6 separate regions of the Homo sapiens genome follow, and regions 1, 2, 3, 5 and 6 are each linked to region 4. Evidence: promoter capture Hi-C in 16 types of primary human blood cells and fetal thymus (Javierre and others, 2016). All regions are on one chromosome and are shown on one strand. Each heading gives the region's core, a stretch centred on a gene start or on the middle of the fragment in contact. The rest is flanking DNA. Distances are from core to core; before and after follow the strand shown. Region 1 overlaps NIPBL (NIPBL cohesin loading factor). Region 2 overlaps NIPBL (NIPBL cohesin loading factor). Region 3 overlaps NIPBL (NIPBL cohesin loading factor). Region 4 holds the start of SLC1A3-AS1 (SLC1A3 antisense RNA 1). Region 5 overlaps NIPBL (NIPBL cohesin loading factor). Region 6 has its middle 9.8 kb from the start of NIPBL-DT.

What was found. Contacts are between HindIII fragments. The CHiCAGO score rates a contact against its expected background, and 5 or more counts as called.
Region 1: a contact is called between a fragment that was not itself captured here and the fragment with the promoter of SLC1A3-AS1 in region 4, in 4 of 17 cell types (naive B cells, total B cells, neutrophils and 1 more). The highest score is 8.0, in naive B cells.
Region 2: a fragment that was not itself captured here is called in contact with the fragment with the promoter of SLC1A3-AS1 in region 4 in 9 of 17 cell types (naive B cells, total B cells, megakaryocytes and 6 more); the score reaches 9.2 in naive B cells.
Region 3: a fragment that was not itself captured here is called in contact with the fragment with the promoter of SLC1A3-AS1 in region 4 in 12 of 17 cell types (naive B cells, total B cells, naive CD4 T cells and 9 more); the score reaches 13.8 in naive B cells.
Region 5: a fragment that was not itself captured here is called in contact with the fragment with the promoter of SLC1A3-AS1 in region 4 in 5 of 17 cell types (total B cells, naive B cells, monocytes and 2 more); the score reaches 10.7 in total B cells.
Region 6: a fragment that was not itself captured here is called in contact with the fragment with the promoter of SLC1A3-AS1 in region 4 in 16 of 17 cell types (naive B cells, total B cells, megakaryocytes and 13 more); the score reaches 23.1 in naive B cells.

The regions. Positions count from the first base shown.
Region 1 is chr5:36,905,203-36,908,693 of GRCh38, reverse strand. The region is part of intron 1 of NIPBL (NIPBL cohesin loading factor); the gene reads right to left. Among named protein-coding and RNA genes, the nearest start is that of NIPBL, 30 kb to the right of the region's middle. The HindIII fragment of the contact is 4,614 bases long and covers 1-3,491 here.
Region 2 is chr5:36,973,399-36,976,986 of GRCh38, reverse strand. It overlaps NIPBL (NIPBL cohesin loading factor), which reads right to left. Exons shown (of 47, transcript NM_133433.4): 9 at 585-1,211. Among named protein-coding and RNA genes, the nearest start is that of NIPBL, 98 kb to the right of the region's middle. The HindIII fragment of the contact is 839 bases long and covers 1,368-2,206 here.
Region 3 is chr5:36,955,481-36,957,980 of GRCh38, reverse strand. NIPBL (NIPBL cohesin loading factor) reads right to left here. Exons shown (of 47, transcript NM_133433.4): 3 at 2,344-2,500. Among named protein-coding and RNA genes, the nearest start is that of NIPBL, 80 kb to the right of the region's middle. The HindIII fragment of the contact is 3,389 bases long and covers 1-2,500 here.
Region 4 is chr5:36,723,557-36,726,828 of GRCh38, reverse strand. SLC1A3-AS1 (SLC1A3 antisense RNA 1) reads left to right here and starts at 1,641. Exons shown (of 2, transcript XR_007058736.1): 1 at 1,641-1,715. RefSeq lists enhancers at 2,644-2,913, 2,954-3,003, 3,014-3,063. The HindIII fragment of the contact is 5,384 bases long and covers 1-2,257 here.
Region 5 is chr5:36,886,976-36,890,677 of GRCh38, reverse strand. All of the region lies in intron 1 of NIPBL (NIPBL cohesin loading factor), which reads right to left. Among named protein-coding and RNA genes, the nearest start is that of NIPBL, 12 kb to the right of the region's middle. The HindIII fragment of the contact is 2,684 bases long and covers 1,095-3,702 here.
Region 6 is chr5:36,865,065-36,868,807 of GRCh38, reverse strand. No RefSeq gene overlaps it. Among named protein-coding and RNA genes, the nearest start is that of NIPBL-DT, 9.8 kb to the left of the region's middle. The HindIII fragment of the contact is 172 bases long and covers 2,045-2,216 here.

The DNA of each region.
Region 1 (3,491 bases), core at 438-2,937, 180 kb before region 4:
TTTTGGACACTGAAGAGAAGAAACTGAAACCAGAACTTACAGATTTTTTTTTAATGCCTAAAGTTCTCCAGTCATTTCTGAAATAATACCTTTAAATCTTTCTATTTCTTAAAATCATTATTTCCTTGTGGTACCAATTCTACGTTCCCTGTATGATAACTAGATAATAATTGTACCACATACAGGTGAATTCAATAAATTTGGAATAAGTGGTTGACTTTAGTACTAGGAAAGTTAAAAACAAATCTCAAGACTTGTTTCTAATTTAGGAAAATTCTATAGGAATTTGTCTAAAGAGGGCTAAAAACAAACAAAAAAGCATAAACATCCATAATATGCAAAATGTGGTTTACTTACTTGATAGAGGGCTATCATATGTAAAGTTAACTTTGGTTATTTGCTTTTTTTAAGTTAAGAAGACTTAAAGAATGTTTAAGCAAACACTAAAGCACTCGGTAATCTCATCTCTTTATCCTCAAAAAAGAGTTTTTTCCCCAAAAGATTGTCTTTCAGCATGTAAACATGTTACATAGTGACAGATGGAGTGTGTATAGTATTTTTGTATTCTATTGCCATTAAATATTTATGAATCTTTGTGTTAATCACATTACCTTTCAAAAGGATGCATACTACTACCAGAAATGAACAAATATATTGGTTTTGCTGTGCCTTGTCAGCATTGGTTGTTAGCTCTAAAATACTTCCTTTTGGAAAAGATAGATACCTGCTTAGCTGCATGTTTTTTTACTATTGTGTAAAGCTGTTTACTATTTTACCAAAGCTGTATTTGATTTATTCTTTTCAGTTGTTCATTTACCATTTTTCACTTGTGTGAATTATTCTTTGTCCATCTTGATGATTTTCATTTAAATTGTAAAGTATTTATTTAGTTTAGTTATTATTAACTTTCAGACCTTTTCCTCAGTGGCATTTCTGAGAAGACTAAGGTTTTTAAATTTTTATTGTAAAGGTAACATATGCACATTATAAATATTGTGGACTGCAGATAAAAGGAAAAAGTGCCTGTTATAATCCTGTCACCCTAATGCAACTACTGTATGCTCTGACATTTTCTTCTGGTCTTTTCTAAGTAAATACATTTTAGTTTCAGTCATATTACTCCCACAATGTTTTGTTTTCTTTACTTAAGGTGGGAAAATGCATATAATACTCCCGAAGCTATAACTTTAGTTCCTTTTAGAACTTTAATCTTCACTTGGAGTCTTAAACTTATAAATAAATATTATTTTAATTTCTGGTATCTACGTAACTTTTATTTTTCTTCTTTTTGCTTATCTGAATTTTCCATAATGAACATGTATTACAGTCTTGCAGGGGTGTTGTGAAGATTAAGTGAGAAAAAATATATGGGACTCACCTAACAAAATATCTTACAATTATAAGACCAAGAACAAAGCAGTTCTTTTTGAATAAAGACATCGCAACAACTAAGTCTATATAGGAAATTTAGCAGTCTAGAACCTTGCTGAGAGCATAACATCACCTTTGGGTTTGTTAGAAATGCAGACTCTCAAACCCTACTCCAGATCTACTGGTTCACAATCGCCATTTAACAAGATGTGGAGTAAGAATCTCAGAGCATTGCTTTTAAAACTTGGCTATATATTCACCCGGAAAAACTAAACAAGTATGATGGGATGAGAAGCGGAATCCACATTCTACTAGTCACCATCTGTGCAAAGACATACACCTATGCAAAGACAGCACTACATTGAAAAATTCAGTCAAGTCTAAAGTTACAATGTAGTGTATCTTTAGGGGCTGGGAAGAAGAAACTCCTGTTTCTTGTGGATCTATTTTCCCACATCAAGACAGTGCTTAACAATAATTCCCCTTGAGGAACATATAGATTAAAGTTCTAGAAAATATTTAAAATCTAGCATTCTTCAATTTGGTGCCCTTTTCTCCAATATTCAGATTTAGAAATCACCAAGTATTAATTATATCTTCTACTGAAGACTTAATAAGATAACTAGACTTTGACAAAATAAAAGCTCAGATTGCAACAAAGTCAAGTAAATTCTTTTACTTGATTAAGGTAGTTAGGACAGTCTACACAGTTGATTAAATTTTCACTTCACTTCGTTTTGCAAGTTAACAATCTTAAGCAATAAGTAAAACAAAATCTGTCCTGGTAGCAGAAATAATTTCTAAAAGACATTAGTAGTTTGATAGAAAAAAGGACATATCACTCTTAATGAAAAGACTAATAGAGACAACAAAATGATTTTAACAGGATGATAAATTATGTAACCCCAGCAACCAAGATTATACTTAACACAAAATACATTCTTGTTAAAATTAATGTTAAAAGAGTCCCAAAATAATCATAATATTATTCGTATCACTGTCACTATTTAAAATTGTTGTGGGAGGTCTAAAAATGCAGAATTCCTTTACACATCTTATGTATATTCATTACATGTTATATACTACATATTACATATTAGCTATATTAGATAATGATTATATACTTCATTCGCAGAAATGGTAGGGTTTTATTTTCGGGTTGTTCTCATCCACTGATTTATCATGATGTATTGATGTTTTAGCTACTACTGCTTGAAATGACATTTTAATATGTAGTAAGGCATGTCTGTTTTTCCTTCCCCATTAATATACTTTTCAGGGTCAGGTGCAGTGGCTCACGCCTGTAATCCCAGCACTTTGGGAGGCCAAGGTGGGCGGATCACGAGGTCAGGAGATCGAGACCATCCTGGCTAACACGGTGAAACCCCATCTCTACTAAAAATACAAAAAAAATTAGCTGGGTGTGGTGGCGGGTGCCTGTAGTCCAGCTACTTGGGAGGCTGAGGCAGGAGAATGGCGTGAACCCGGGAGGCGGAGCTTGCAGTGAGCCAAGATCGCACCACTGCACTCCAGCCTGGGTGACAGAGTGAGACTTCATCTCAAAAAAAAAACACAAAAACAAAAACATAGTTTTCAGAATTTTCTTTGACTTTCTTATTTTTTAGATAAATTTCAGAAATATTGCGCCTACCTAACATCTCACTGAAATTTTTATTGAAAATAAATTAAACCAATAAATAATTTATGAATAGGCATCTTCAAAATATTTTCTCTATCTTAAAGTTTTGAAGTTTTTGGTACATGTCACACACATTCCTCATTAAGATTGGTTCAGGAAGGAGAAGTGCAAGGAAAAACTGCACAGGGGAAACCGCCTCACTCACACATGTAAAACTAAATTTAAGAAGGTAGTATATTCCATATTCAAAACACCGATTATGATCTTACAAGCCAACAGTAGTGTTTTCTGCTCAATCCCAAGTCCTAAGCATCAAATAACAATCCTCCATTAGTGGATCTCACTCAAACAGGAAAAAACTCCTGCGTCAGAACCAACACAGAAATGAGAAATACATAGGAAGAGATGAACTGATCCCATGAACACACACATTACAGTAATATTATCTCTTAGTAAATTATTCAAATTCATTGCTTATTAC
Region 2 (3,588 bases), core at 538-3,037, 250 kb before region 4:
CAAAAGGGAACACTTCACTGTAATTACCACCAAAAGACTCTTAATTTCTAAGGTTTGCTATTTAATATTAACTCTTTCCATGATTTGTTTACTAAAAAAATTTGACATTATTAAGCCAGTAGGATCATAAACCAAGTGAAATATCTAACTGCCTAATAAGCATACACATGAGCTTTTCTTAAGTGTACCTGTTCAAAATAATTCTACAGTGGTTAACCTTGTTTTAGCAGAAAAAAATTTGAAGGTGCACAACAATATTAATGTAACTTGTGAAATATACATGTTATATAGAAATGCTAATGTTCATTTTAGCAGAAAAGCACAAATAAGTAAAATCATATAGTACATAATGAGTAACAGACCTGTAGTAGAGAATTACCAAATCTCATATAGTTGTTTCAGACAATAAATGAAATTGTTACGAATTTAACTTCTGCATTATGAGTATTAGTAATAAAAATATGTACTTGAGTAGACATAAATTATACAAAATATTCGGGAAAAAAGTAATGTGAAAAAAATTTTTGACACTATAATTACATATTTGCCCAGATGATGAAGTGGTAATAATGAGATTATTTTACCTTTATCTTGAACTTCTTTTGAGAAGCGCTCCCTTTCAATAGCTGATTCTCTCTCTATTCGCTCAATTTCAGCCAATGCATCCAATTCCACTTCATCATATATAGGTCCCTGTTGTGATATCTGTTGTTGATTCTGTACCACAGAAGTCTGGGGTTGTTTTGCAGCAACTGAAGTGTTCTGTTGTAAAACAGGCACTTGATTTGCTGGAAGGAATGCTGTTTGTTCTTGCTGCGACAAACATTGAGCAGCATTTAGTGGGCGGTTTATATCTTGTGGAGTAATGGGTGTTTTTGAAGTCTGTCCTGGGTACTGCACATTAAAAGGAATATCATTTTCTGAAACATTGCTATTTTCCACACCAGAAATCATATCCTCTTGCTGGTCCATGTCTGAAGACCTTACACGAGAAAGTCTTAATGTAAGTTTAGTAGAGTCCTTGGATGGAGAACTAATTATATCATACATTGCCGCTTTCTCACTCTGCTCTTTTTCATCCTTGCCTAATTTCATTTTCTTCTGCTTCTTTTGTTTTCTTTCTGGAGAATCTAGCAAGATATCTGGTGGAACATCTCGAGGTGATGAACAAGGTAGAGACTGAGATTGTAGGATTAAAGGTGGTCTTGAGCCTAGAAAAATAATTCGATAGAAGTAACAGTTGTGGTGGTTTCACATTTTCTTACAATGTGATAGAAATATTAATAAGTGACAATATAGTAATACTAGAAAAAAATAAGAAATTATATAATCCAAGCTACTTATTTACGAAAGATGAAAAGAAAGCTTAAAAACTTGTCCCACACAGTTGTTTAGCTTGCTAGTAGTTAATCTAAAATCTAGGTTTGAATCTAAGTATGAGTATTCAATTTTTCAGACCAGTATTATTTCTATATTTTTGTGCCTATAAAGTATACATATTTAGCTTTATAGGGGTAAAAAGTTCATTGCTTCTAAAGATGATACAACACAAATATTTTGGGTATGACCATCTCTGTTCTTTCATGGACTATCTGGGAAAACAGATATATCCTGATTAAAGTAAGAATAAGTACGCTTTTGTTAAATTACACAAAAATAACAATTTAATCCTAGAGACTATCTTACATGAATACTACTGGGATGATAACAAAAAGCAAGTGGTCAATTTACAATTACTAGAGCCTTTACTTACTTCAAAAACTGGTGGTAAAATATTGATTTATACTTTTATGTGGTCTTCTCTTTCTCCCTTAACATCATTCACATACTCTCTTCAGCTTGCTAATCCTCTTTTTATTAGAAAAATAAATAAGTTCAGTAAATTTCAAGGCCCAATAAAATATATTGAGCCCAGAGTCCATTAAATCAACCAATGTTATATGAAACAGGAAAGTGTTAAAAATAATCAGATGGAAAAATTATCCTAGTTAATAAGCCTTCAGACAAAAATTCTCCTTCAGACATGAAGGAAAAAGTGCATTGATATGCTTCAGAAATAATAGTATAACTGCATCTGAATAATGTATACATTTCTTATCACTAAACTATAAAATATTTAAAAACTTGTAAGAAATTGTAAAAATTGGTCAAGATAAAAGTTTTTTTACAGACAGAACTTAAACCTAGAACTGCCTTCAATTAAGCTTTCAGTCTTTTTCCATGATACATAAATCTGGACTTTCAGTTAGCAAGGTTAATGTATTTTAAATGTTATATATAAACATACAACTTTATTTATTGACTCTAGTGTGATAAAGATGATATGGGAGCAATTAACTATAAATGTTAGTCTAACATTTTGTGTCAGAGTTGTGAAAGGTGCTTTACATATCAATTCACTTGATTTTTACAACATTCTTGAGTATTATCTTTAAAATTTTTCAGAAATGGAACATGAAGCCTACAGAGGTTAAGAAATTTGCCCAAGGTTATGTAGTTAACAAACCTGAAGATTTAAAACAAGATTTGTCTAAGTCTGAATTGTAATATACCATTATGCCTTTGTATTTAAATTCTATGTGGCAAATTATATACACTTTAGAACAAACTTCAAATTCTAATAATTAATCTAAAAATCAAGATAGACTGACAATGCACTTACCCTTCAAAACTAGTTAGAAAACAACTTCATGACAGAAGTTCAAGCTTTTGGTGAATAATATATTAGTGAGGTTATTTGTTTTAAAGTTTTCCATTTCTATCTAAAGTTCATCTACTATTTATCTATCTAATCTCAAGAGTCAGAAGAAAAAAAGCTAGTTATCTAGATCAATCACCTATCTCCCTGTTCTCTTTCCCCGGCAATCTAAATAACTTCTCACCTTGACAACACTTGTGGGATATGTATCTAACCTACAAATAGTTACTCTGGAAGTTTTTCTCTCTTTCAGAAGCCGGGTTTTTATCCCTGAAAATTCATACAATTTACAGAATTGAAATGGCTCATAACAGCTCAACTTTCACTCTATGAAAAATGTCCTTGATAGAAAACCAAACACCGCAGGTTCTCACTCTTAAGTGGGAGCTGAACAATGAAAACACATGGACCCAGGGAGGGGAATATCACACACCAGGGCCTGTTGGAGGGTAGGGGGCAAGAAGTGGGAGAGCATTAGGACAAATACATAATGCAGGCGGGGCTTAAAACCTAGACGACAAGCCTGGTGTGGTGGCTCACGCCTGTAATCCCAGCACTTTGGGAGGCCGAGGCGGGCAGATCACGAGGTCAGGAGTTCGAGACCAGCCTGACCAACATGGTGAAACCCTGTCTCTACTAAAAATACAAAAAAAATCACCCGGGCGTGGTGGCATGTGCCTGTAATCCCAGCTACTCAGGAGGCTGAGGCAGGAGAATCGTTTGAACCCGGGAGGTGGAGATTGCAGTGAGCCGAGATCATGCCACTGCACTCCAGCCTGGGTGACAGTGCGAGACTCTGTCTCAAAAGAAAGAAAGAAAAAAAACCTAGATGACGGGTTGATAGGTGCAGCAAATCACTATGGCACATGTATACCTATGTAACAAACCTG
Region 3 (2,500 bases), core at 1-2,500, 230 kb before region 4:
ACGAAGTCTCACTCTTGTCCCCCAGGCTGGAGTGCAATGGTACAATCTCAGCTCACTGCAACCTCCGTCTCCCAGGTTCAAGTGATTCTCTTGCCTCAGCCTCCCGAGTAGCTGGGATTACAGGTGCCTGCCACCACGCCCAGCTAATTTTTGTATTTTTAGTAGAGACAGGGTTTCACCATGTTGGCCAGGCTGGTCTCTAACTCCTGACCTCAGATGGTCTGCCCGCCTCGGCCTCCCAAAGTGCTGGGATTACAGGTGTGAGCCACTGTGGCTGACCCAACAGTTATGAATTTTCAAATATGCTATCCCTGGGAGAAATATAATTATCAAAAATAACAGAGAGGGATTCTTCTAAGGACAATCTTTTTCTTCATTTTACTTTACACAGTCAAGAGAAAAAAAGCCCAAAACACTATTTTATTGAACTATGAGTTTAATAATTTCCAAGTAGTTCTAAAATAGAAAAGAAATACATTCTATTCTAAACTATTCAAAATAATGGAAGGGTAGACAAGTGAAAGTTACACAAAAAGTTGATATTTGGTATTGGAATATATTTTCTTACACCTGAATATGAGTGAGTCTGACTTTCTGGGAATGTCTTACAAATAAGATACTGTTGCCACACTGATTAAGACAAGACCCAGAGGTTATGTAATTTTTCCATCTTACATTGCTTTCTCAAATAATGTCATGGTGCGGGAAAAGCGGAAACCAAACAGCAAATTTCAATACACTTCACAGCAGCAATTTTCAATAAACTTCAATATAAGTAGCAAATTAAATTCATAACCATGGGAGATGATGATAAAATTAAGTATAGGCAGTGTTTTAACTTTATATTATACATGTCAATGTTCTACTCATTGGATCTAACCATGAAGACCTATAAAGATGGTGTCCAATGATAAGACTCACTACATTTCCAGGGCAATCTTACAGGAGCTCTCCATAAAATAAGTCCTTATTTTACGTGTGCTATTTCCTTTACATCTTTAAATATTTGGTGAAAACTACTGAATAAGTATGTACAAGCATAAGAAGTGATTTAGAGGCTGGGCACAGTGGCTCACACCTATAATCCTAGCACTTTGGGAGGCCGAGGTGGGTGGATCACCTGAAGTCGGGAATTTGAGACCAGCCTGGCCAATATGGTGAAAACCTGTCTCTACTAAAAATACAAAAATTAGCCAGGCATGGTGGTGGGGGCCTGTAATCCCAGCTACTCAGGAGGTTGAGACAGAACAATCACTTGAACCCAGGAGGTGGAGGTTGCAGTGAGCCGAGATCGCACCACTGCACTCCAGCCTGGGCAACAGAGCAAGACTCCATCTCAAAAAAAAAAAAAAAAAAAAAAAAAAGAAGTGATTTAGATATTGCTGAATTTTTGGAGTGACAAAATATTAGTAGTATTATACTTCTTTCTGATTTTAACCAATCATTTCTTAGCTTCTCCATTAGAAAATCCATTTAGTAAGTATCTCACCTTAGAGTCATCAGCTTTAAAAATGCCCCAAAAATATGTACCGCATCTAATGTAGATATCTCTCCATTATAATGTGTTTATCCTCATTCCCCTACATGATGAATTTTTAAATTAAAAAAATAAAGAATGCGAGGTTACATGAGTAACATTGTGTGGTGGAATATGAAGGGATAAGAATGAGAGATTTTACTTTTTACACATTTTTGTGTTGTTTGTATAAATATGTATTGGTTTTGCAGTGAAAAATAATTTTTTTTTTCCCCAGACGGAGTCTTACTCTGTTGCCAGGCTGGAGTGCAGTGGCGTGATCTCGGCTCACTGCAACCTCTGCCTCCCGGGTTCAAGTGATTCTCCTGCCTCAGCCTCCCGAGTAGCTGGGACTACAGGCGCCCGCCACCACGCCTGGCTAATTTTTTTTTTTTTTTTGTATTTTTAGTAGAGATGGGGTTTCACCATGTTGGCCAGGATGGTCTCAATCTCTTGATCTCGTGATCCACCTGCCTCGGCCTCCCAAAGTGCTGGGATTACAGGTGTAAGCCACCGCGCCCAGACAGGGATATAGTTTCATGACCAGATCTCTGCACAAATGATGGATCCCCCAAGATAAGTTCAAAAGAGCTGAAAAAATATCCATAGAGCTACATGGGTCAGAATTATTATCTAAAAATAAATATTGCCTACTTAAATCTCATTAATCTATTATTGCAATAAGACTATATTCTCCCTCGGATATGGATATTTTTAAAAAATAAACTATGTATCTAAAAATTTCTGAAATAAAACCAGGAATACGGATTCTCTTAGTAAGGCCAAAACTTTTCACTTATAGTAGATATAAAATTGATCATACTTACATGTGATCTGTTGATACCTGGTTGAGGCTATGGACAAGCTGTGAAACCAAATTGTCATCCCTACAAGCCAAAAGGCAGTTCACCTCTTCTGCTATTCGTGCATTAAAGAGAAGGCTCTTTGTAGTTGTAGCAGGTAAAGGAGATGGAAGAGGCAGCT
Region 4 (3,272 bases), core at 392-2,891:
GTCCTGACTTGACCACCCTAATTTAAATTGCACTTCTGATTTCACTTACTTTGCTTTTTCTCTCCATAGTGATCACCTCTTAACATATTACAAAATTTTCTTAATTTTTTAATGTTTATTGCCTATCTCCTGTTTCACGCTCCTTCTTGCATCCCTGAATGTAAACTCTGAGAATAGTGAGGTATTTTTTGTCCTTTTTGTTCAATAACAAACACTCAGTGCCTAGAATAATGCCTTACAGGAGTGCTTTATAAGCATTTGTTGAATGAATGAATGAACTAATGAATGAAGTGTAATACAAGGGGCAAAGGATTTGGCATCCTTTGGTCATGGAGTGCTGCTCAGATATGTACTATAGAAACCATTCTGAAGCATTTCAAAAGACATCCAGTTTCTCCTCTGTATACTGCAAAATCTTGGGCTTAGGTTCTGGCATTTAGTCTATGACAAATGATTGCTGGCAAAAGTTGAATGAAGCAGTTAAGAGTATGGGTTTGCAGTAAGATCCAGGTTCAAATTTACACCTTTCCATGTACTACCTGTGTGACTTTGGTGAAATTATCTTCTCCAGGCCTTAGGGTGAAATGTATGTGAGAATGCATGAAGCCTGCCACGTGGTTAATATTAAGAGTGATAACTCATATTATCATTGATGGAGGTGAATGAAAGAAATGGAGTAACACGCTTTTAAAACACAGTTTCCCCTCCATTATCATTTCAACCACTTTAGATGAAAATATTGAGGGATACATCCACAATTTCTAGTTAATTAAAAAATATCAGGAGGTCTTAGTAGATTCTAGATTTTTCCTTCAATGAAATGAGTTGTTAAATAAAAGGCCTCCATAAGTACAGGGTCTTGTCGTTGGGCTCTATCTTATGAGCGGTGGATCTGCCTCCCAGGAAGGTAGGCAGACACCAGTGAGGCATCTGGTGCTTGGGATGCAGCGAGTGGAGCCAAGCAGAGAATGATCAGATCCGTTTGCCTGGAATTTCTGCATTTGCTGCCCCAAACATCTGGAGCCAGGCTACCCAGTGCAGATGGAAAATAGCAAAATGCAAATTCCCTGGGTTCAGCTGAGGGAAGCCAAGGCAGACAGAGTCTGAGAAGGCGGATGAAAGGTGAGCCAAAACAAAAGCCCTGGCGGGTGGTGGGGCAGCGTTTTATCTAGAGCCTACGGCCCCCGGTAAGGACAGGAGATGAGAGAAGGGACCTTAGAGCTACTTGGGCCACCTTCATGTTCGTACTCATCCCCCTCCTTAACAGCCTGAAAGGGAGCCTGCTGGGCTTACGGCAGCCTCCCTGTCCTCTTCCTGATGCCATGCCTGCTCCATTGCTTTGCTTCTTCTGGATCCTGTTTCGCCCTCTCCCTCAAGAAGGAGATCCTGAAATAGATCCTGAGTCAATGACTCAGGTGCAAGTGCTTTATTAAAGAAAGGCTCCCAGAAGAAATCTACTTGCACCCGAATCATTGACTCAGGATCTCCTTCTGGGAGAATCCAAGCCAAGACAAGACAGACAACCCAACCAACTGAGCTGCTCACAGCTTCAACTGCTACAACCCTGGAAAGGATTCTGATTGGCTAGCTAAGGGTCACATGCCCAAATGGGCCTTTGATTGGCAGCTGTTGCTTCCTTCCTACTCCCTCCCACACACCCAGGAGCTCCAGCCTGTTATGGGATGGGCATCCTACCAGGAACCAAGGATGCTAAGGTAAGCAGTCCTTGCCCTCATAGGTTTACTTATACTTAAGGGGAGAGAACCGTTAGTCAAATCACCCCACATACAGATCTTTACACACTATGAAGGACAAGCACAGGGTGCAGTCAGTGGGAGGGGCCCAGAACGGGAAGTGCCATGCTGGCTGCTGCTGTGTGGAATGGGCTGTAAAGAGAGCAAGAGTGAAAGCCACAGCAGGGGAGCTGGTCAGAGATGGCAGTGGCTTTATTAGAGTGGTGGCCCTGGAGTTGGAGACAGGTGGGAAAAACTCAAGAGCCCTCTAAGGAACCGACCCATGGCAGTCCATCGCCACCAAGTCCCTCTTACCACTCTAGGTTTAAAGAAACCCAAAAAACAAAACTACGTTGCAACTGCACTGCTACACCAGGAAACCTAAGGGGGAACAAAAGAAAACTTAGTAGTGCCCTCTAGGCTGAAGATTTGACCTATTATTTACTAACCTTTCCCTCCCTCTTCCTTATTTTCAACAAATCTCCTGCCATCCATTTTGAATTCTTCTCTAAATAGAGAAAGCTTTCTTTCTCAGCTTCATTTAAATGTCCACCATGGTATTTACCCATGTTTTCTTGATTTTTATTTCTTTTTGGGGCGGGTATCTAAAAGATAATCTGATCCCTGTTCCTGATTCTGTAGGTGACAGAGAGAAGTGGTTTTCTCATTTTTTTGTGTGTGAAATTATTCGCATATGAGGAAAAGATAGCTCAAAAATAGAAGCTCTTTCATTATCTCTCCACAATGTAGTGTGGCCCCAAGTGACTATTTTGTGGAGACACGGTAATTTGGGGTGGCTAAATCATTACCCCGAGGTGTGTCAGATGCTGCCAAGACCTCCTTCATTCATGTGGCCAAGACTGTGGGCTTCCTGGCTGGGGAGGCAGAGGCCCTGCTCTTCTGCTGCTAACCTTGGGGTCAGCGAGCCCTGATCCACACTTCCTCTGGGCAACATCAATGGGGCTGCTGAACATATTGAGCCAGACTTGTTTCCAAGAGATAGAAGGAACTAGAGCATTGGGGAAAGTCCCAAGTAACTCTAGCCCTCAGCCACCTGCTGTGGCTGAAGATGAAGTCTCTGCAGCTTCAAGAATCCAACTGGCTGGTGCACATTGTTCTCATTGGCTAGATCATTCCTCCATGTAGCACTTCACTAAACTCATTAACAAATATTTACAAATGACATTGCTTTTTGGGGTCATGTATATTTCAGTCTTCAGAATCCATCAGGCACTCAAATCCCTTGGCAGTTCTAGTTCTCTCCCCTAGACATGCCTCTGCCCCCTACTACTCAGTTCCTTTTATTTCTACCATTCGTTTTTATTTTCTATTTCATTTCTTTACTTTTTAGAGACAAGGTCTCTGTCACCCAGGTTGGAGTGCAGTGGCATGATCATAGCTCACTGCAGCCTCAAACCCTTGGACTCAAGTGATCCTCCTGCCTCGGCCTCCTGAGTAGCTGAGACTACAGGTGTGTTCCACCACATCTGGCTAACTTTTGTATTTTTTGTCAAGATGGGGGTCTTGCTATGTTGCCCA
Region 5 (3,702 bases), core at 1,187-3,686, 160 kb before region 4:
ACATGGGCTTGGGTTAAGAATTGGCCTAAATGCCACTTGGCTAATAGCAGTTTAGATCCCATGCTAATTTTACTATATAATACCTCGAAATGATATACACCGTTTGAAAAGCCACAACTGTTTATCATCAAGAGGTTAAAAATATATAGTAAAAAGAGACCACAGGCACAATAGTGGGAAACGGGAGCATTTAAATGACCTAATAATATTCATAGGAAGTGTGTATTCTATATGAAAAACACAATGAATCTACTGAATGAATTAAGATGTGAATGAAAATAAAGATTATAGCAGAATAAAATTAGTTTTGGAAATATATATTAAAGGCCATAAAAATGTTCAAACCTTTTGACCCAACTTCCACTTACAGGATTACTTCCACTTAAGAGATTCTACTCTAAGCGAATAAAGCCCCTAAAGGGGGAAAAAACTACATATAAAGATGTTCACTGCCTCATTATTTATATAGAAAAAAAGTAAAAGCAAAAAGTATGCAAGAATAGAATGAATAAATTATGGTTCATCCACTGACAAAATACTGGGCAACATTTTAAAGAATTATGAACATTATATAGAAAACTAGGAAAATCTTTATGATCCAACGTTAAAAGAGGAATAAATTTATAGCATTAATATATGTATTTAACCATAATTACATTCATCATAAATATTTTTATGTAAAAATTTAATAGGAAACTTAGTAGGAAAAACATAAAATTTGATATTTTTCCCATTTCCCAAACAGCATGTAGTTTTTTTTTTCACATTGGTTCTACAATTGAAAAAAAATTAAGAAAAGTCTTCAACTTTGAAGCTCTTGAAAATTTTTAAGTTCTAAATTCCACAGTTTAAGCTTAACATATCAGGAAACTATATGTAGTTTTGGCTTCCAAGAAAATAAAGGAATGGATTGTTACTGAATTATAAAATTTTTATAAAACACACTAAAACTGTGGTGTTTATCTTCCAGTTTAAAATATCAGAATCATAAGAAACATATGATAATCAGAGTAGATGGCAATGTGGCTCAACAGCTAGGTAACTAATTATTAGAGATTCAGATACTGAACTTCATACTAGGACAGTTACAAGCTTATTGTAAATTATATGTGATTTTAAATTCTAGTTTTTAGACATCCTCATATGAATACGGAGGACAGTGCAGTGGCACCCTGACATATACTAAGAAACATGAGTAATTGGAAAGATTGAAGAACTGTAAGAAATACCTCTTTCCCAACACCTCCTCCCAGTTCTTAATATGAGTATCTGGATTATGCAGATCATTTTAGCCCCAAGCCTACAATTAGTTCTTTAGCAGTGAACATGGGGGTTCAGAAGTAGAGCCAGAGTGGAAATAAGAGTAGAAAGAACTCAAAACACTTCTGTATATAGATCTTTCTCTTATCCAACTAAACAAACCTTATTGTCCAGATAAAAATAGTTAACTAAATTACACCAATTCTTTGCTGTCAATGTTGTCCACCATTTCTGGGTTTCATGTTTTCTTTCCTCTATAAAACTTGCTCAGTATTTAGCAAGCCCCACCCATCTTCTGTCACTCTAATTAGTCCTATGTCCCCAAACTGAAAATATATTCAAATTCATTTATTCAACAATTGTTTGTTGAGTGCTTACTATGTGCAAGCCACCAAAGGGATCCAATGACTACCAAACTGGGTCTCCCTTCAGCCTTTGTAAACTGCCTTTAGATTGATTCTATTCATTCCAAAATATGGTACTTGGCACTAGAGCAAAATATAGCACATATTACTTCTTTAGTTATAAACTCTAGATATAACGAAGAAAATGCTTGCTTTGTTTTTCAAGGCAGCATTACATTTTAAAATGCCCTTTACAAAAGATGCGCTCAGGATTATTTAAACTAATAATTTCAAGCAGACCCTTTGGCTCAAACTGTGGGCTGGAGGGGTAATTTCTTATTTTAAGGAAGAAATATCATAAAGTTATACAAAACCATGAACATTAATTTCCAAACTCACAAACAAGCAATACTGTTACAACACATCTAACTCCTGTCATTAAAAATATGTGCATGCTTAGCACCTGAATGGTATCATATCCCACAGCATTTCTTTAGTTTTCTGTTGTTTGCAATAAAAGTGAAAATGTTATTTAAGTAAACTTGTTTCCACAGTATAGGAAAGTCAATTCAAAAGTCCTTCCTTTAACTTTCCTTATACATTCCCATTTTCTCCTCTACCCTGCTCCAAAACACATAAACACAAAGTATTGAAATGAATATACAACTCCATGAAATGCAGTATTCTAAAAGCAAGAATGAAAAGATAAAAAATGAGTTAAAAAATGAGTTCAAGTCTTCCAGCTGATAAACTGGGCTGTAAGTCAAAAGTCCTAAATTTTAGATATAACAGAACACAGTCACATTTAGGCTATATAGTATCACTGTTACTAAAGATTACACCTTAATTTTAAATACCAGAGCCCAAGCATAGAAGCAAAAAGTATCCAATACTAAATACATATTACTTTCACAATTACTGCTAAATCTTTCTTAAAATACTAGAAGTTATTAAATCTGAGAAAACTGTATGTTCAGGACCTCTCACAGAATCAAAACATTGGGGAAGGGGTAGATTCAAGTGATAATTCAGGGAAGTGTTACAAATGTCAGAACTGGGTGAATAACTGAACTGGAAGTATGGTAAAGAAGTGTCAAGGATTATCCCAAATTTCTAGTTTAGGTAAATGAGTTGATAGTGAAAACATTAACCTACTTCATGTATTTTTTAATAGTTTTCTTTCTTTGGGTGACAGGTCAGAGTAAGGAAGAATTAAGGGATGAGTTCAGACTTACATACTATGGAATTTCTGTTATTCATGGGACATCAGGAGGTACCTGATAGACAGCTGGATCTGGCTCAGAAGAGAAATATATTCTGGAGATAGATTTGTGAGTCATCAGCACACAGGTAGCATGTAACAAGTCATGTGAATAAATGAGATCAACAGGAAGAACAGAAATAAGTTTGAAGCACCTCCTGGAGAATACAAATATTTAAAGGGGTAGGTAGAGGAGCAAGACCTAGCAAAAGACTTAAAAAATGGGAGGTCAAAGACATAAGCAAACAACAAGAGAATATCCCAGAGATGAAGCTGTTTCAAAAAGGAAAGGGTCGGGGGAGAGGTGGTCGAATAAAATGTCCAGAAAATTACTCTTTTCTCATTATCTGCCCCCAATTTTCAGTAAAGGGCACTGCTTTTCTAACTTTAATCATTGGAAGAGAGGCTGTGACTGTTATTCACTATAATCTATGCTCTTTTTTTAGCACCAACTTACAAACACTAAACCTAAAGCAAATGTAAACTCAAGTTTTTGGTGTTACTGCACCATCCTTCATTTTTTATTCTAGTTTCTATGTGCTGTATGTTCAAAATGCAAGATGCTACCTATTTTAATTATGAAAAAGAGAGTAGGTCTATTTCACATGCTTGGTAGAGAATTAAACAGCATTTACTAATATAAATAAATGCCATATAATAATGTCTATTAGACTAGATTTGGGGGTTGAGGGTTAAACAGGTAAGTAAAATTTGGGGGTCGAGGGGTAAAAATGAGCAAGTAAAATGTTCAATAATAAGGCAGCTGCCAAAATCTGAGAGAAATATCTACCACTGTTCAAAGTACTATTTTTTGATAATACTCTTTCGTAAGAGCTT
Region 6 (3,743 bases), core at 881-3,380, 140 kb before region 4:
TGGGCTATTAGAATTGCATAAACAGCCTAAGCTTTTAAATGTTTCCACTCATGAAAAATAGCTATTATGAACTTTTAAACATTAAATTAATAAAGTGCAATAGCTTTACCATGAACTATTCCTTATTGATAAACATAGTAATGGGTTAACTCATGTCAAAGTCCAATAAAAACTAGTAACTTTGTCACCAAAGTCAACATTTCAGCATCTATGATATGTAGTATAGGTATTTCTGTTTTATCTAGTTTTCATTTAATAATCTAAAAGATTCTGGCCGGGCACGGTAGCTCACGCCTGTAATCCCAGCACTTTGAGAGGCCGAGGGAGGCAGATCACGAAGTCAGGAGATAGAGACCATCCTGGCTAACATGGTGAAACCCCGTCTCTACTAAAAATACAAAAAATTAGCCGGGCGTGGTGGTGGGCGCCTGTAGTCCCAGCTACTAGGGAGGCTGAGGCAGGAGAATGGCGTGAACCCGAAAGGTGGAGCTTGCAGTGAGCCGAGATTGCACCACTGCACTCCAGCCTGGGCGACAGAGTGAAACTCCGTCTCAAAAAAATAAATAAATAATAAATAAATAAACTCAAAAACCAAACAAAGGCTGGTGAGAAAATAGCTCATTTCTTGTCTTATTCCAGAGTAAGGAGTGGTGACAGATTAGGAAAAGCATCAAAAAAGTGGCTTCCAGTGAACAAAATCAGGAAGTTTGAGTAAAGAATTTCTCTTTTGCTAAAAACTTAAATATAAAAGTTTAGTCAGGAATTTGTACCCACACATGTATACTGCTTTTAACATTTTTCTCTAGACATTTGAAATATTTTATTTTCTCTTTAAAAAAGCAGCACCAAAACCTAAATTTAATAGTAATGTTTCTGATTTATCAGCTTCTTTCCATCTTACACTGTTGAATTCTGTACTGCTTCTAAAGCACCTACAATTAACTCTACAAGAACTGCACAATTAACACTCGGCATTGCCTTCTTCCTAATTCTAACATCGACATTCATCAGCTTTCTCCAATACAGTCAGATGATTCCTTATAATCATATCTAGCCAAATGATGTAACTTTTGCTTGATGTATGGGAAAATAGCTTACATTATGAATTTAGAAGAGCTATAGTAGTATTTGACAATATAGATGGAAAAGTATTTTTAATTTAAAGAACATATTGCACATCTTTCAGAATTTCTGTAAAAACTTTTGAATGTCCATTTTGGCTAGGAGCTTAGAAATGATCATGCTTAAGTTTAATTTTGTGTTTACATTAAATCTTTTGGATTTTCATTCTGTATACAATATTGCTGTAAAACATCATAGTTGTGAAATCTGGCTCTTTAGGAGATGCTTACCATAAAACTGGTTTGAAAACTATTCTGACTACAGTGTAGCTATTACATTCACTAATAAGAATTTAGTATGCCTCTGAATATAAGTAAGTCTCTAATTCCCTATTTTTTTGGAATATTACTGTATTCTAAGAATATCAGAATATGAGCTTCTTAAAGATTTTGAATTAGCATATCCAAATTGACAGATAACATTCTTAGGTGGGGCGTGGTGGCTCATGCCTATAATTTCAGCACGTTGGGAGGCTGAGGTGGGCGGATCACTTGAGGTCACGAGTTTGAGACCGGGCTACAAGGTGAAACCCCATCTCTACTAACAATACAATAATTAGCCAGGTGTGGTGGTGCATGCCTGTAATCCCAGCTACTTGGGAGGCTGAGGAACAAGAATTGCTTGAACCTGGGAGGCAGATATTACCCCACACTCAACAAATAAATATGAAAGAACTTTACTTACAGGATAACATCATGATAAAATTTGCATTTTAGAATAACTCTACAATTAACAATAAAAAGAAGTACCTATAACATTACCCCACAAAAGGGATAAGGTGTGGTGAACTTGGAAATTTCATACAATTTAGAAATATGTATTGAGCTGTAAAAATGTTCATATTCATTGACATAAAACTTTCACATCTGAACTCTTGAGGTGGCTATATATTGCTTTTGTAATTTCAATGAAAACAGAAGCTTGGGCAACTGAATGAAGGAAGGATGGAATGTAAGAGAGGGTGGAGAAAGGTGAATCAATGAGAAAGTTAATGTAACCAGTCAAATGATTTAATAATTTATTTTTTAGCAGCAAATCTCCTTAACAATAATACTTTCAACTTAATAATACTTTCATCCCACATCTAGAAAGCTTACAGCAAACTTTCCAAGTAGTTTGTCTGTTCTCACCCCAAGGTGCAACTCCAATGCAACCCACGCTTGCTGACCATTCTTGCTGCTTCACTTTCATCACTCCTCCATAACACGTTTATCTGACTACCAACCTTCTCATAATATCTATCCACTCACCATTGGTTCCCACCATCCCCACACATTTTGGTTCCTTTAAATCAAGGGTAAATATAGTCTTGATTGTTCATGTCACCTAGTGGTAAGACAAAAACTAGCATGACAGGGTGGAAGTGAAGATTATGCCATATTTCAGAGGTTTACATGTTTTCCAGTAGTGAATCACAACTATCAGAAATCCATATGTATGTGGGCCACATACATTTTAAATTATAACAATAGTAGAATTATAACCTATTAGCTATTCAAAAGTATTTAGTTTTTGGCTGAGGACAGTGGCTCATGCCTGTAATCCCAGCAGTTTGGGAGGCTGAGGTGGGAGGATTGCTTGAGTCTGGCAGTTCAAGACCAGACTGGGCAACATAGTGAGACCCCCATCTCTAAAAACAATTTTTTTTTTATTGGCCAGGTGTGGTGGTGTCGACCTGTCATCCCAGCTACTTGAGAGGCTGAAGGGGGAGGATCGCTTGAGCCCAGGAGGTAGAGGCTGCAGTGAGTCATGATGGCACCACTGCACTCCAGCCTGGGTGACAGAGTGAGAGCCTGTCTCAACAACCAGAAAAAAAGTATTTAGTTTTACAGTATTACAAAGTAGTGTCACATTAGTTTAATGAGGTTTATTTATACAAAGGTGTAAAATTATGGGCCAAGTACTAGCCTTCAAGTAATTTCGAAGTCAGCGAGAATACTGGTATATAACGGATCAAACTTTGTTCAAGAACCAAAGGCTATTGTTCAACGAATGGTGCTGAGACAACTGCAAAAGACTAGGACCCTTACCTCACATGCAAAAGACTGGGACCCTTACCTCACACCATTTTGCAAAAATTAGCTCAAAATGGATCAATGACCTAAATGTAAGAGAAAACCTATAAAATTCTCAGAAAAAAACAGAAGGATAAATTTGTATAACCTTGGATTTGACAGGATTCTTAGCTATGACAACAAAAACACAAGCCTCCAGAAGCAAGCAAACAAAAACACCATAAACTGGACTTCATCAAAATTGAAAACTTTAGTGGTTCAAAAGACACCATCAAGAAAGTGAAAAAATCCACAGAATAGGAAAGATATTTGCAAATCATGTATCTGATAAGGGATCTATGTCTATAATATGTAACGAACTCTTAATAAAAAATAACCCCACTTAAAATGGGCAATGAATCTAAATAGACATTTCTCCAAAGAAGAAATGCAAATGGCCAATAAGTACATGAAAAGATGCTTGACATCACCAGAGAAAAGCAAATAAAGAAACTGCAAGGTTTTCATTCTTCTTCACTTACAAGGCTTCATTCTCACTATGATAGCCAGAATAAAAAAGTCAGATAACAACAATTATTGGCAAAGATATAGAGGAAAACTGCAAAC